Regions from separate parts of the Homo sapiens genome. Here regions 1 and 3 are each linked to region 2. The links are contacts of gene promoters, found by promoter capture Hi-C in blood cells and fetal thymus (Javierre and others, 2016). All regions are on one chromosome and are shown on one strand. Each heading gives the region's core, a stretch centred on a gene start or on the middle of the fragment in contact. The rest is flanking DNA. Distances are from core to core; before and after follow the strand shown.

What was found. The method cuts DNA at HindIII sites, captures the fragments that hold promoters and counts their contacts. A CHiCAGO score of 5 or more calls a contact.
Region 1: a contact is called between the fragment with the promoter of NME9 here and the fragment with the promoter of STAG1 in region 2, in 1 of 17 cell types (naive CD8 T cells). The highest score is 5.2, in naive CD8 T cells.
Region 3: a fragment that was not itself captured here is called in contact with the fragment with the promoter of STAG1 in region 2 in 1 of 17 cell types (monocytes); the score reaches 5.9 in monocytes.

Annotation. Positions count from the first base shown.
Region 1 is chr3:138,327,762-138,332,210 of GRCh38, forward strand. NME9 (NME/NM23 family member 9) reads right to left here and starts at 2,090. Exons shown (of 11, transcript NM_001349018.2): 1 at 1,542-2,090. The coding sequence starts at 1,574. LOC124909438 (a long non-coding RNA gene) reads left to right here and starts at 2,172. Exons shown (of 2, transcript XR_007096113.1): 1 at 2,172-2,409. The HindIII fragment of the contact is 16,828 bases long and covers 1-4,449 here.
Region 2 is chr3:136,749,590-136,753,936 of GRCh38, forward strand. STAG1 (STAG1 cohesin complex component) reads right to left here and starts at 2,789. Exons shown (of 34, transcript NM_005862.3): 1 at 2,606-2,789. It overlaps STAG1-DT (STAG1 divergent transcript), which reads left to right and starts at 3,082. Exons shown (of 1, transcript NR_185911.1): 1 at 3,082-4,347. RefSeq lists silencers at 2,113-2,492, 2,813-3,042 and enhancers at 2,234-3,165, 3,053-3,372, 3,166-4,097. The HindIII fragment of the contact is 7,208 bases long and covers 1-4,127 here.
Region 3 is chr3:138,219,741-138,224,518 of GRCh38, forward strand. ARMC8 (armadillo repeat containing 8) reads left to right here. Exons shown (of 22, transcript NM_001363941.2): 3 at 2,186-2,257; 4 at 3,649-3,791; 5 at 3,896-3,993. Among named protein-coding and RNA genes, the nearest start is that of ARMC8, 35 kb to the left of the region's middle. The HindIII fragment of the contact is 2,960 bases long and covers 1-2,761 here.

The DNA of each region.
Region 1 (4,449 bases), core at 840-3,339, 1.6 Mb after region 2:
CTCGCTCTCCTCCTTTCAGCAGGAGGGAGCACTTAGTTTGAGTACTGCATTGTACTCAGAGCTCTGAGTAATACACATGAAAAAATAACAACATTGCTAACAAAAGTTATTACCCCCATAGGAGCTCTAGGGCATCAACACATGAAATGACCATAATATGGGGCAATAACATTAGAGACACCACAGACAACATCAGACCAGCCAGGAAGTGTCTAAAGGAGTCTCATCACAGCTCTGCAGGCGTTACAGGACAGGTATCATCCCTCCTGTCTACGTAAAGGATACGGAGGCCAGAGAGTTGAGGAAATGAGTCACACAGCAATGAATGGTAGGACCAGTTGATCAGAATTTACTTCAACCAGAACATTCACGTATGAAGTGGCTTCTGACTCTAGAATCCTAGAATATCAAGGCTGGAAGAAGGCCCTTAGGGATAATTCACACAACATCCTCATTCCATAGATGGGCAAGCTATAGCCTGGAGAGGTTATGTGATGTAGTCAAAGACACAGTTGGCTATAGAGGACACAAGAACTACATCAGGTCTTCTGACTTCCAGTCTAAAAATCCCACCCCACCCCACCCCACACCCCTCCCACCCCCAGCATGGGGTACCCTTAGAATGATGCTGCTTTCCCCTTTCCTCTTTTTTAAACCACTAGGCTTTTGAAATCCACATGCAAACTGCTGGTCCTGCTGAGGACAATAAGAGAGAAACCAGATGTCTCAAAACCACTAATGCTCTATTATCTAGGAGGCGCTGTAGCCTTGGTATGCATCTTACTGGGGCCAGCTGATGATGAGGCATTTTAAGTTCGTTTTAAAATGTTCCCATGTTGCAGATCATCCAGCTGATCTCCTTATGACCAAGCACTCTCTCCTAATTCCAGGGTCTATGCCTGCATGTTTTTACCATCACTTCAGAATCAACCACTATCTATTGTCCAGGACCAAGAAGAAGAGCAGCTGCTGGCTTCTGAATTCACTTGTCCCACATGCAAATGAAGTAAGACACTCTATATAACATATGTCCAGCACATAATATATCTCAAAACATATTTGTTAATAAGTGAAATTTGATGAGAACAGTGGTGGGAAAACTGGGTCTCCACAGAGCACACAGTTACAGACTCATGCCCAAAGTCAAAAGAACCTATACTGTATTCTCTGTGCAAGCTGCAGTTGTATTTCAACAAGAACAAAATAACGGTCACATCGAGTTATGTTGATTCGTATTTTCTTAGTTTATAGTTTTATTTAATGCATGTTTAGGTTTTATGGTTGTATAAGCACTATAAATGTAAACAGCTTCTACTCAGTTTTGTTTGCATTAATTTTGTTTGCGTAAAATTTGTCATCACTGGGGTTCCAAGATAAGTTTTGTCCCTTTAAGACGGAAGGGTACATCACTCAAGTTTGAGAACACTGTCACGTACTGCTGGCAAACAGAATGTCACTTTTATACTGCAACCCCGCTCTAATCACCCTCCTCTTCCCCGAGCCCAACCCAGAGCTGGAAGCTAGCGCCCCTTGAGGCTTACCTGCAGGGCAATTTCCTTCTTCCTGCTGCCCATGGCTCTGCAAAGAAGACGAAGCCCTGTTACCGCGGCCGTGGGCCGTTCCCCCGCAGCCTCGCGACAAACCGCTGCGTGGATCAGCAAGCCCAGAGCCTCCTTCAGACAAGCCCCCCTCCTACGGCCCCCGGCCCCTTTTTAAGGTGCTTCTAACTGGCGGCAAATCAGCACACTGATACAAAGTGAACACCCCGCGAGGAAGCGGAGCCTGCAGTCCACGGGCTCGTGGCTCGCCGGGCGGTTTTCTGGGGATCTGCGAAGCCCCCTCCCCACCCCGGAGCCGGCCAGGGGGCGCGCGCAGAGGCCGGAGTCAGTGCGCCGGGCGCGGTGCAGCCTGTCGGGCACAGGGTCGCCAGTCGAGGAATTCTGACAAAAAAACGACATGGGACCCTGTTATCCCTGCTGTTCTTATGGATTACTGGGAAAGTGAGCCACTGCGAACGACAGGTACAAGATCTTCGACGCGCCCGGAGTCACCAACCGAGTCTGCCGCGACCTAGCCGCGGTCGTCATGGCAACCTGGCCCCCCCGCCAGGCCTGCCAGGAAAGCCGGCGGACACGTAAGCCACGCCCACTCTGGGCCCAACGCAGTCTCTCCGCGGAGGCTCTGAACCCAGCCAGGGAGAGGCAGGAGGGAGTCCCGCCCCTTGCCCTCCATATCGGACCATAGGAACCCACTCATTGGCTGCAGTGTTTGTCAGCGTCTGGAGGCTTCGAACCCACCAAGCAAAGACCCAGTGCATCTGTGCGTTGCACAGTCGCATCTGTGAATCCCTGCATCCCTCCTGCCCTGCCTGCCAAGACTGATGTGCAGCTTTTCTACCATCACATACCGGTATAATGTGTGCAAGGTGGGGGGTGTCTCCAGGTTTTGAGGGATCTGCAAGCGTTCTCTTTAAGGCAAAGAATATGAAATTACAAATTCAAAATTAGATATGAAAGTCAAGTGAGACACATACAAAACAGTTACAGACATTGTAGATATTAATCCAACTGTATCAATAACCACTTTAAATGTGAATAATCTGATTACACCAATTAAAAAAGAGATTGTCAGAATGGATTTCAAAAACAAACAAAGCCCAATCGTGTGTTATCCACAAGAAAATACATTAAAAGCAAAAGGATAGAGAAAGCTATACCAGGCTGACACTAATTAAAAAAATAGCTGAAGTAGGTATGTTAATTTCAAGAAAAGCAGACTTCAGAACAAGGAAATTTATCAGGTATAAACAGGGACATTACATAAAGTTAAAGGGATCAGTTATTTGGGAAGACATAACAATACTTAATATGTATGTACTTAAAAACAGAGCACCGAAATATGTGAGGCAAAAGAAGATAAAACTGCAAGGAAAAATAGGTAAACTCAGTATTATAATAGAATGCTTTCATACCATTTTTAAAAAGTAATTAATACATCCAGCAGAAGCAAATGAGCAAGGATATAGTTGAACTGAAAAATATCAAATTGATCTAATTGACATTTATGCAATATTTAGTTCAACAACAGCGGAATATAGATTCTTTCTCAAGCTCACATGGGACATTCACTGAGATAGACCACAATCTAGGCCATAAAACATAGCTTAACAAATTTAAAAGGATAGAACAAAGTATGTTCTCTGACTGCAATAGAATTAAACTAGGAATCAATCACAGCTGATGAAAGAGATCTCACAGATTTAAATAAATGAAGAAATATTCCGTGTTCATGGATAGGAAGAATTAATATTGTTAAGATATCAATTCTTCCTAAGTGAAGCATACACCAAATGATTTCCATCCAGGGAGTGCTGATACCCTGTTTGGCCATGAGGTACCCAGCAACCCTCTGTGAAGTACAGGGCGATGGGTATACTGGAGACCGAACATCTTCCTACCTGTCATCCTGCCTTCTCCCACTTCAGCTCCGAATCCACCTACTCTTTTCTTGCATTCAGTCCCATGGCAATATTCAGTTCCATGATAATATTACGCAGAGCCACAGGCAGTCCTTAAGACACCACATTGCAAACTGAGTTGACTAGATGCAAATCATGTTCATTGCCACAAGGTGGTGGTTGCTGAAGCTCTTGAATGGTGTGGAATCTCCCTTAGAATTTAGTTTCCAAAATAAAATTCAAATCAGATGCTAAATTCCTCTTGCCAGCACATGGAAAGATAGTGACATTTATTCTTTCTGAAAGGGTTAAATTTCTTACCATGTGGTCTCTATTACAAAATGTACTCACATCTTTGCCAGGCTAAACCTCAGAAACAAATTTAGGTAAACCACATGTCCCAGTTTGCCTGGGACACCCCCACTTTTCACCTGTTGTCCCATGCAATTATTAATAGCAACCCCTCTCACTTTCAAAAGTGTACAGTTTGGGTAGGGTGCAGTAGCTCACGCCTGTAATCCCAGCACTCTGGGAGGCCGAGGCAGGTGGATCACTTGAGGGCAGGAGCCTGGCCAACATGGTGAAACCCTGTCTCTACTAAAAAAAAGTATCAAATAACTGGGCCTGGTGGTGCATGCCTATAATCCCAGCTACTTGGGAGGCTGAGGCAGGAGAATCACTTGAACCCAGAAGACGGAGGTTGCAGTGAGCCAAGATCGTGCCACTGCACTCCAGCCTGGGTGACAGAACAAGACTCCATCTCAAAGAAAAAAAAAATTACAGTTTGGACAACATGGAACCTCATCAGTTTTTTCCCAGATGAATCACCTTGGGCCACTCCTGCTTTTTAATAAAACTTCCATCTTTTACATGTTTTGTGACACAGGTGAATGGTTTTTTTTGTTGTTGTTGTTTTTGTTTTTTTGGTTTTTTTTTGAGACAGAGTCTTGCTCTGTCACCTGGGCTGGAGTGCAGTGGCGTGATCTCAGCTC
Region 2 (4,347 bases), core at 1,539-4,038:
ATAAAAATTAGGTGGGCATGGTGGCACGCACTTGTAGACCCAGCTACTTGCGAGGCTGAGGCAGGAGAATCGCTTGAACCCAGGAGGCGGAGGTTGCAGTGAGCCGAGATCACACCACTGCACTCCAGCCTGGTGACAGAATGAGACTCCATCTCAAAAAAAAAAAAAAAGAAAAACAACTCTAAGCCTCAGATATGCACTGCAATCACAGCTGACACCCTGATTTTAGCCTGAGATGCTCAGCTATACCTCCCCAAACTTCTGACCTATGGAAGCTGAAATAATTGTTAATCTGTTAAGTGTGAAATTTGTTATGCATTAAAAAAAAAAAGAAAGAAACTAATATACCCCCCTAAATAAAGATATAAAGATACAGGACAAAACAACAAATAAAAGGGGAAACAAGAACGTATCTTTCCCAGAGTACATTATTTCTTCTCACAGCACTGAGATTATGAACATACACAGAGTCAGAATCAAGGAAAAAAAGATTAAAACTGTACAAAATTCTGTAAATTTTAAGTTACAGCAATTAAATGTGTGTTTTTCACAGACATCTTGTTACACAATCACCGTAAGATACTATCCCCATTTTATTTTATTTTTTTAAAGAGATGGAGTCTTGTATGTTGCCCAGGTAAGCCTCAAACTCCTGGGTTTAAGGGTTCCTCCTGCCTCACTACAGAGTAGCTGGAACTACAGGAGTGCACCACTGGGCCCAGCTCCCCATTTTTAGAGATAAAGAAAGTAAGGCTCAAAGGTAACACCCTGAACACCACAAACCCAGGGGACGTTCAAAGTAACTTCGGTCCAGGACCCACTCCTTCTCCCCTACACCATAGTGCCTTTAAGGCTTTAAAAGAGCCAATCAAATCTACAGTCATTTTATTAGTCTCTTCAAAGGAGGCAATCCTAGTAACACAACAAACTTCCATATTTTGCATCTATTTAAATATTCCTTAGCCTTATCAGAACATCGAAACTGAAGTGGATACAGAAAAATTTCCACTCAAAAGCAGTTCGTTTGTGAAAATGACCACTGGTAGATCACTTGAATTAATTTAGTTTACTCGAAGTACGTTTTAAATATGTAAAGGAAAATGCGTGGCAAAACACCTGTAGATCTTCTACAACTTTATTTGGGTAACAATTTGTCTTATAAGTATTCTTAATCATCAAAAGCAAGGAAATAACATTTCTGCTTCTTTCCATTCCATATTTCCCTACTTGGTTAAAATTTTTCAGTCTGAATTCCTCATACATTATGAATATTAGAACAAGGTACGTTACATTACCATACAATAAACAAGTTATTTTTATTTTCACTCTTCTGTATATTTCCCTAAGTGCTTCACCATCGGAATGTGCAATTTTCTTAAAACACGAGGAAAACTAAAATGTAGAGTCATTCAAATTCCAGATAAGTTACAAATCACACAACTTTGTGCCAATTCAGATACTTTCTCAAGTAAACACTATTTTTGCGAAGATGCAAGTCTTTCTAGTCAGAATCACGAGAATAAACTCTATCCATCTTAACACCAACTTTAACAGCAAATAATTTTTTTTTATGACAAATTGCGTTTTTTTTTTTTGTTTTTTTTTTGTCTGTAAGTGTCCAAAACTATCCTATGACTTATACTCCCGGAGCACGATTCCCTGCAATGTGAAGAGAATCGACAGATAACATTTCAAATGTGGGTAGATGGGGGTGACGTGACAATCCTAAAACCTGAAAATTTCTTAGTACCCATACCATACAAGAAGAACCCAGTTCGGACCCTGCAAACGGGGCTCAGGTCCAACTCCAAGCACTCTAGTTTCCCACCCCGCCCCCACCTCGAGAAAGGAGGGAAAACAACTTTTATTGGCCTCGTCTCTCAGGGGACTGGCAAACTAGCGGGGCAGTGCTTAGGCCTGGACACGTTTCACAAGGAGGCCCCCGTCGGGGGCTGAGAGGGCAGATAGCTGGAAAGCCCAGCATTGATGCATCTCCCCCAGCCGCCACCCCGCTGCCCCACCCCGCCAACAAGAAGCCTGGGCCAGCCGCCCCGCCGAGCGACCCCCCAGGCCCCTCCGCTGAAATGAACTCGTTGTCATGTGACGCCGCCGCCGCTAAAACACCGCAGAAACGCAGGTCGGCAGGCGGCGGAAGGCATTCGCGCCAGCCCGCGTCGGCCCGGCCCCGCTGGGCGCGGGCGACTCCCGAGAGCCCGGGCGGGGGGGGGCGGAGGGCGGGCTTGGCGGCGGGCCCGAGCGCGCCACAAAGGCTTCCGCGCCTGTCGCCGTAGTGCCCGGGCGGGCGGGGGCAAAATTTTTGGTGCCCGCGGGAGGGGTGGCAAGCGACGAAGACGCCGGGGTGCCCACCGCGCCCACAGACGTCTCTCCGGGCACTCGGACGGCCCACGACCGCCGCACCCCGCACAGGCCCGCGCGGCCTCCCTCCCCCGCACGGGGCCCGCGCCCGGCCCGCCCGCTCGCCGCTCGCGCTCTCTCGCTCTCGCCCGGCCTCCATCTTGGATCGGCGCTTCCAGCCCCCGCGCCGCTGCCGCCGCATTCCCCCTCTTTCCCGCCCCCCGCCGCCGTCGCCGCCGCCCGCACTCACCTCAGCTGCCCATCCGGGCGCCGCCGACCATCGACCTAGTTTCCCCCCAAAAGTCTCCGGTGTGTTATTCCCGATGTGGGGGGGTTGTTACGGGGTGGTCGCCGGGGGTTCGGGAGCGGGGGCCGCGCCTTCAACGGAGCTGCAATCCTAACCCGCCATCTGGTGGCATTTTCCACACGCCAATGGCGCCGCTGCAGACTTGGGTCCGGACCGCCCTCTGCTGGCCGCGGTGCTCACTGCCTTGCTGACGGGACGGGCCTGCCCGGAAAGGGGAGGGAGCTGAGGCGCGAGCTAGGGGCCGCGGCAGGGGCGCGCGCAAACGCTTTCCAGTGGGGATTGCGCGCACGCGCACCAGCGGGGCGGGAAACGTGGCCGCTGCGTGGCGGCCCCGCCCCCACACGGAGCGCTCGCGCAGTTCAGCCAATCGCGAGAGGCGTAGGCTTCTGGATAAGGGCGCTGTGGACGGTTCTTGGGCCGCCCGCGGCTGGCGGAAGGACGGCCACGGTGGCGCCTGCGCGTCCGGCTCGCCGAGTTGCCGCCCGCCATTTTTGGAGCTTCTTGGAGATCTAGGCAGGAACCCGCCCCGGGTTCCTTCACCGAGGCTCCTCCCTAGGTCTCAGGGCCGGCGCTTTCCTCTGTTCCCGCCCGGCTCCTGCTGCCCCCATCCGCAGCTCTCGAGACGCCCTGCGGAAACCCGAGGGTGAGGCCGCGCAGATCCCTGCTCCTACTTGGATTTAGCAAGGGCCTCAGAGCTTAGCATTGTATTCGCGATTTACGGCTGACAAGCGCTTTCACCAGGCAAGAGTGAAAAGGTTTCAAAAGGACTATTGGGGACTTCCCTCGCCATTAATCTAGACGAAACACCGCCGGCCCTAGGCCGATTGGCGTCATCCTGCCTCTGTAAAGCACATCTTTCCGTGGTGTCGGCTTTGCATAAGGCGGCAGCATTGGCTAGTTTGTGAGAGGAGAATATAACTAGACTGAGAAGATAGACTCAGCTGTGAAAGTGGATTTCTCCCTCCACAACCTAGGACTACTTTCAGTAGCTCTGAAATACACATGAGAATCTTAGCCTTCTAGATGCCAAAAGAGAAATAATCAGTAAGGTGAAATCATTAACAAACTATTTATGTTTAACGTCGCCTCTTCCCTGATCTCCACCTGCCCGTCCGTGGCCATGGATCCCTACCTTTCACCTGCTTACAACTTTTCACCACAAAAGTGAATCCTTACTCTCCTGGATCATTAGCCCCATATATGACTAACTTCTCTATCGCTATAGCCAACTCTATTTCAGTATGGAATCGCTCAACTACTTTATAGTCTTAAGGGCCTGTCTCCAGTAGGTTACCCCTATTTGTGTTTTCTCTCTCAAGGGTTTGCAAGATGTGTGGCTTTTCGCTGGAGGAAGTCATAACTGACCAGATTGGATATGAATTCGTGACTGGACTCCTACTTATAATTTTCTTGCGTTTTCTTCTAATCTCTGGCTGATCTCCTATTTTCCACAAAGACTGTTTCAAGCTTTCCATGTTGTTAAAGATGCCAGTCCCAGTCCATACTAATAGATAAATTCATCCAGTTTCCTGGGCTCAGAGCTATGGGACTCCAATTCCGGTTTGACCTTGCCTCCATTATAAAATATCTGTGACCACCTCCTGTTCGTGATCCCAAAACTTCTAACCAAATTAACCCAGAACCCTTCTCTCCAAAGCCACTCCCTCTGCCTGAAACTATGCCAT
Region 3 (4,778 bases), core at 32-2,531, 1.5 Mb after region 2:
TTAGACATTGTTCCATTGTATTGTGTTCTCTTTAGTTGGCATTTCCTCTGTTGCCATCAGTTACCTCCTTCATGTCCTTTTTGTAAACTATTAAGAGAATTAGAAAATTGGTGTTGGACAGGTTTTTGTTTGCTCTTGTCTGTAAAAACATGGCATGGTTTGAGATGTTTGGAATGGGTTCATTTGGTAATGTTAGGGACCGCTCATTTCTGCTTAAGAAGAATGGAGAGGAAAAACTGGGGAAATATTAGGGTTGGGAGTTCTGGAATAGAAAGCATTCAGAATGGCACTTAGCCTACACAGACTCTAAGTAGGTAGGGGCTGGATAAATGAATGTTCTACATTAGTATAGGCAGAACACATTAAGAGAAAGGAAGACAATGAAAGTGAACAACAAGCTGGTAGGTTAAGGTCCATATGCTGATGATTAGGAACTAAAGCCTCTAAAGAAAACAGGCATCCATGAGGATGCGGGAGCTTAGAAATCTCTTACTAACTTTAACTTTGCTAATTGATCCTTTGATATCATATAGTTTTATATTCATGTATCAGAACTTGCTAACAACCTCAGTAAACTTCATTCAGTTCAGTCCCATAAACAACAACAAAAAAATTGCTACTTATTTCTTGTAAACCATATAGAAGATCTGAGGGATACTTTACAGAGGGATAGGTCAGGCCTGGAAAAAAAGCCCTACCCTCAGGCACTGAGCTAATGGAAGAAAGACCAGGCATTCTCAGTATTTGGCTTGACTTGTAAAAATGCCATTCAGAAACTTGTAGGGAAAATCTGCTTTTAGCACATCACTAGTTGTTGCAGTATTTTTCTGCAATAATCAAAAAAGGCAATTGAAGACAAGGGTTAATCGTTACCAGGTTCTTTAATGCCAGTAAATATGATTGGTGTTAGAAATGTATGCTGACTATAACATTTATTTGTTGATTTTTTTTTCTTTTTTTTTTTTTTGAGATGGAGTCTCGTTCTGTCACCCTGACTGGGGTGCAGTGGCGCGATCTCTGCTCACTGCAACCTCCACCTCCCCAGCTGAAGTGATCCTCCTACCTTAGCCCCCCAGGTAGCTGGGACCACAAGTGCGTGCCACCACACCTGGCTAATTTTTGTATTATTTGTAGAGATGGAGTTTCGCCATGTTGTTCAGTCTGATCTTGAACTCCTGAGTTCAAGCAATCTGCCTGCCTAGGCCTCCCAAAGAGCTGGGATTACAGGTGTGAGTCACCGTGCCCGGCCAGGGAAGTTTTTTTAAACATTTTATTAGTAGTACTGGGTTTATTTTGAGCTATTTATTTTTTCTCTACATTTCCTTTTGAACCAACCACAAATTTGTGAGCCAAGTGATCAGTGGTAGAGGTTCTCTTATTGTGGAATAGAGTTTTGCTCCTGGTGAAGTATAGAGCTCTGTATAGCTAGAATAAAAAATACTGTGAATATCTGAGAAATGTAAAAGATTCTTTGTTATTTTTTAAATCGCCTTAAGAGATAACTGGCTGCTTAAGCAAAAATAGTAACAATGTATTATGTTGTTTCTAAGCAATTTAAAAATATTGTATAACAGCAGCCCAAAAAATGAATGGGAAAGTGGAAATACATATGCAAGGCTCTTAAAATACATGTGCAATGGGCTAATATCACTTGAAGACTGACTGTGATAAATTAAAAGATGCATTGGAAAATAACAAAGGAGTACAGTTAGTAAGACAATAAAGCAGATAAAATGGAATTGTAAGAAATAATATATAAAGAAGTAAAAAAAAAAGTGAACAAAGTGTGATCATTGAAACAAGGAGTTAATGTTCTGTGGGCTGTTTTTTCTGTTGTTGTTGTTGTTCGTTTAACTCACTCCCTACTCTTAGAGCTGAGCGTGAGGGTGGCCTGTATTCCTTTGTATCCAAAGTATTGGTAGGTACCCTTTCTAGAAGAACTCAATTCTGTACTGGAAGTCTTTCGCCAGTACTCAGGATATCTCTCACTTTCTACAATACGCCGTTTTACAGCCCCCACATTCACTCTGCACCTATCTCTATCCCTTCATTAGTACTTTAGGTGAAAAAAGGTTAGTGCTTTTACTTTGTCAAATCTAAGATATTGCATAATGAAGTAGAATGATCTTTGATTTTTCTTCAGTGCTGTCTCAACATACTTTATTTTTTCTTCCCCTTAATTCAGAGACATGAAAAATGCTGTAATTGGAAACAACAAGCAGAAAGCCAATCTCATTGTTTTAGGAGCTGTTCCAAGGTATGTTTGCTGTCTCACCCCTTTCTTGCCATTCATACTAGTTTCTAATGTATTTCTTACTCTCAATTATAGAACCCATTTTTCCTGTATTGTCTGTCTAATTCTTAAAATAAATCCTATTTTTAAAAATAAATGTAAGTATTTAAACTATCTTTAAGGAAAAAAATTATAAAGTAACAGAGAATGTAGTAAGAAGTGAATGTGTTAATACATTTTGGAAACTCAGGAAGACCTTTGACCTGATGACAAAAGGGTTCGTAAAGTACATATGCAATGTACAACAGCCTGATACTTTCTTCTCCATTTCCTTAGAGCCTTGGCAGTTTTTTGTGTGAGTGGGTAATTTATTAGGAGCCTTAAGACCTTTTTGAATTTAAAGGAAAAAAACCCTGCTTGATTTTTAATCCAGTTTCATTTTTTAACTTCTGATTTTTACAACTTGCTGTTTTTTAAGTTAACGTAAGAAGTTTAGGAAGTTTAATTTCTTCTTTTGATGACCTAATAAGCTTCCTTTAGGCAGGCAATGACAGTTACATAACTTCCTCTTTACTTTTGCTCCTCAGAGCTAAGTTTTCTGTGCAATTGCTATTAGCTTTTCATTCAGAATTATTTATTATTTTGTTTTTTTCTCCTTATTTTCTGGTTTTGATACAGAATTAATGGTTTAAGTGTTTTAACTCACCAACCTCAAACATATACTTTAGTAACTATAAAGCTGTCAGCAGCCTTTCTTAGGGGATTTATGTTTGGTATATATAAATAGTGCTTTATGGAGCATGAGGGTCCTGTCTTAGAACATAAGGTAGATGGTTATAAGTGGAGGAAGGTTAGGGTTTGGGGAGTATTTGTTTGGCAAGCTGGGCTGGAGTGGAAATGAGAGGATCTCTTCCTTTTCCAAATGAGAGAGCTGGAGAAAGAAGAAACTACCTTTGCTTGAGGAGCTGCACAAGGGCTCTGAATATTCCCTATAGGCTCGATATCTACAAACTGCACCACTGCTCTGGATTCAGAGCAGTAGCATTTCTAGTTTGAGTTTAAGATCTGGCAGCACATGGCATTTGAGAGTCTTCATATTTTGGAGACCCAGCAGGAAGTGGTAGATGACATGGACTCTGATGACGCTGTTTCTACAGAGACTATCTGTGGACAACTTTCAGATTTACACTTTTTATAAACTCTAAGAATATGATAGTTCTTTTTTTCAAAACCTCTTCTAGATTTTTTTTCCAGATGTTTCTTTAATTAGCAGATGAGATAAACAAATGACCATTGGATTCATATAAACTCAGCCAACCATATTTTTAGTATGTGGACTGCACAGCCTTTTTTGGTCACATTGAGTCTTGTTTAAATTTTTTAGTCTCTTCGTTTATTAAGTTCCTTCTTTTTAGATTGTTGTACTTGCTTCAGCAAGAAACCTCAAGCACAGAGCTGAAAACTGAATGTGCAGTGGTGTTGGGAAGTCTTGCTATGGGTACTGAAAACAATGTCAAGTCTCTACTGGACTGCCATATTATCCCTGCCTTATTGCAAGGTATGTAGGGAAGCCATTTTTGCTCAATTAAGGTTAAGAATCAGTTTGCAGTGCTTTAAATACTGGTTGAAAGGATTAGTCCTAAATCTCATTTCTGTTAATAGGACTACTGTCCCCAGACCTGAAGTTTATTGAAGCTTGCCTCCGATGCCTGCGTACCATCTTCACCAGTCCTGTCACTCCAGAGGAGCTACTGTATACAGTGAGTTTTAGATGTATTTGAGACATTAGTTACATTTCACCAACAGCCTACTCCTAATTTGCTTAGCATCTTCAGACTCATCATAACTGTGTTATGTAAAAAAGTCTCAGTTGGTCATGGTGGCTCACACCAGTAATCCCAGTGCTTTGGGAGGCTGAGGTGGGAGGATTGCTTGAGGCCAGGAGTTCAAGATCAACCAGAGTGACATAACAAGACTCCATCTCTTTTTTTTTTTTTTTTTTTGAGGTGGAGTCTTGCTCTGTCACCCAGGCTAGAGTGCAGTGGCGCGATCTCGGCTCACTGCAACCTTCACCCTGCCAGGTTTAAGCATTTCTCTGCCTCAGCGTCTGGAGTAGCTTGGATTACAGGCGCGTGCCACCACACCCGGCTAATTTTTTGTATTTTTAGGAGAGATAGGGTTTCACCATCTTGGCCAGGCTGGTCTTGAACTCCTGACCTTGTGATCCACCCGCCTCGGCCTCCCAAAGTGCTGGGATTACAGGTGTGAGCCACTGCGCCCGACAACAAGACTCCATCTCTACAAGAAAAAAATAAAAATAAATTAGCCTGGTGCAATGGCTCATGCCTATAGTCCTAGCTCATGAGACTGCAGTGGAAGGATTGCTTGAGCCTAGGAGTTTGAGGTTATACTAAGCTATGATGGTGCCCCTGCACCTCAGCCTAGGTGACAGAATGAGATCCTCTCACTAAAAATAAAAAATGATAAAAGTCTCCGCTGGGTACAGTGGCTCACGCCTGTAATCCTAGCAGTTTGGGAGTTCAAG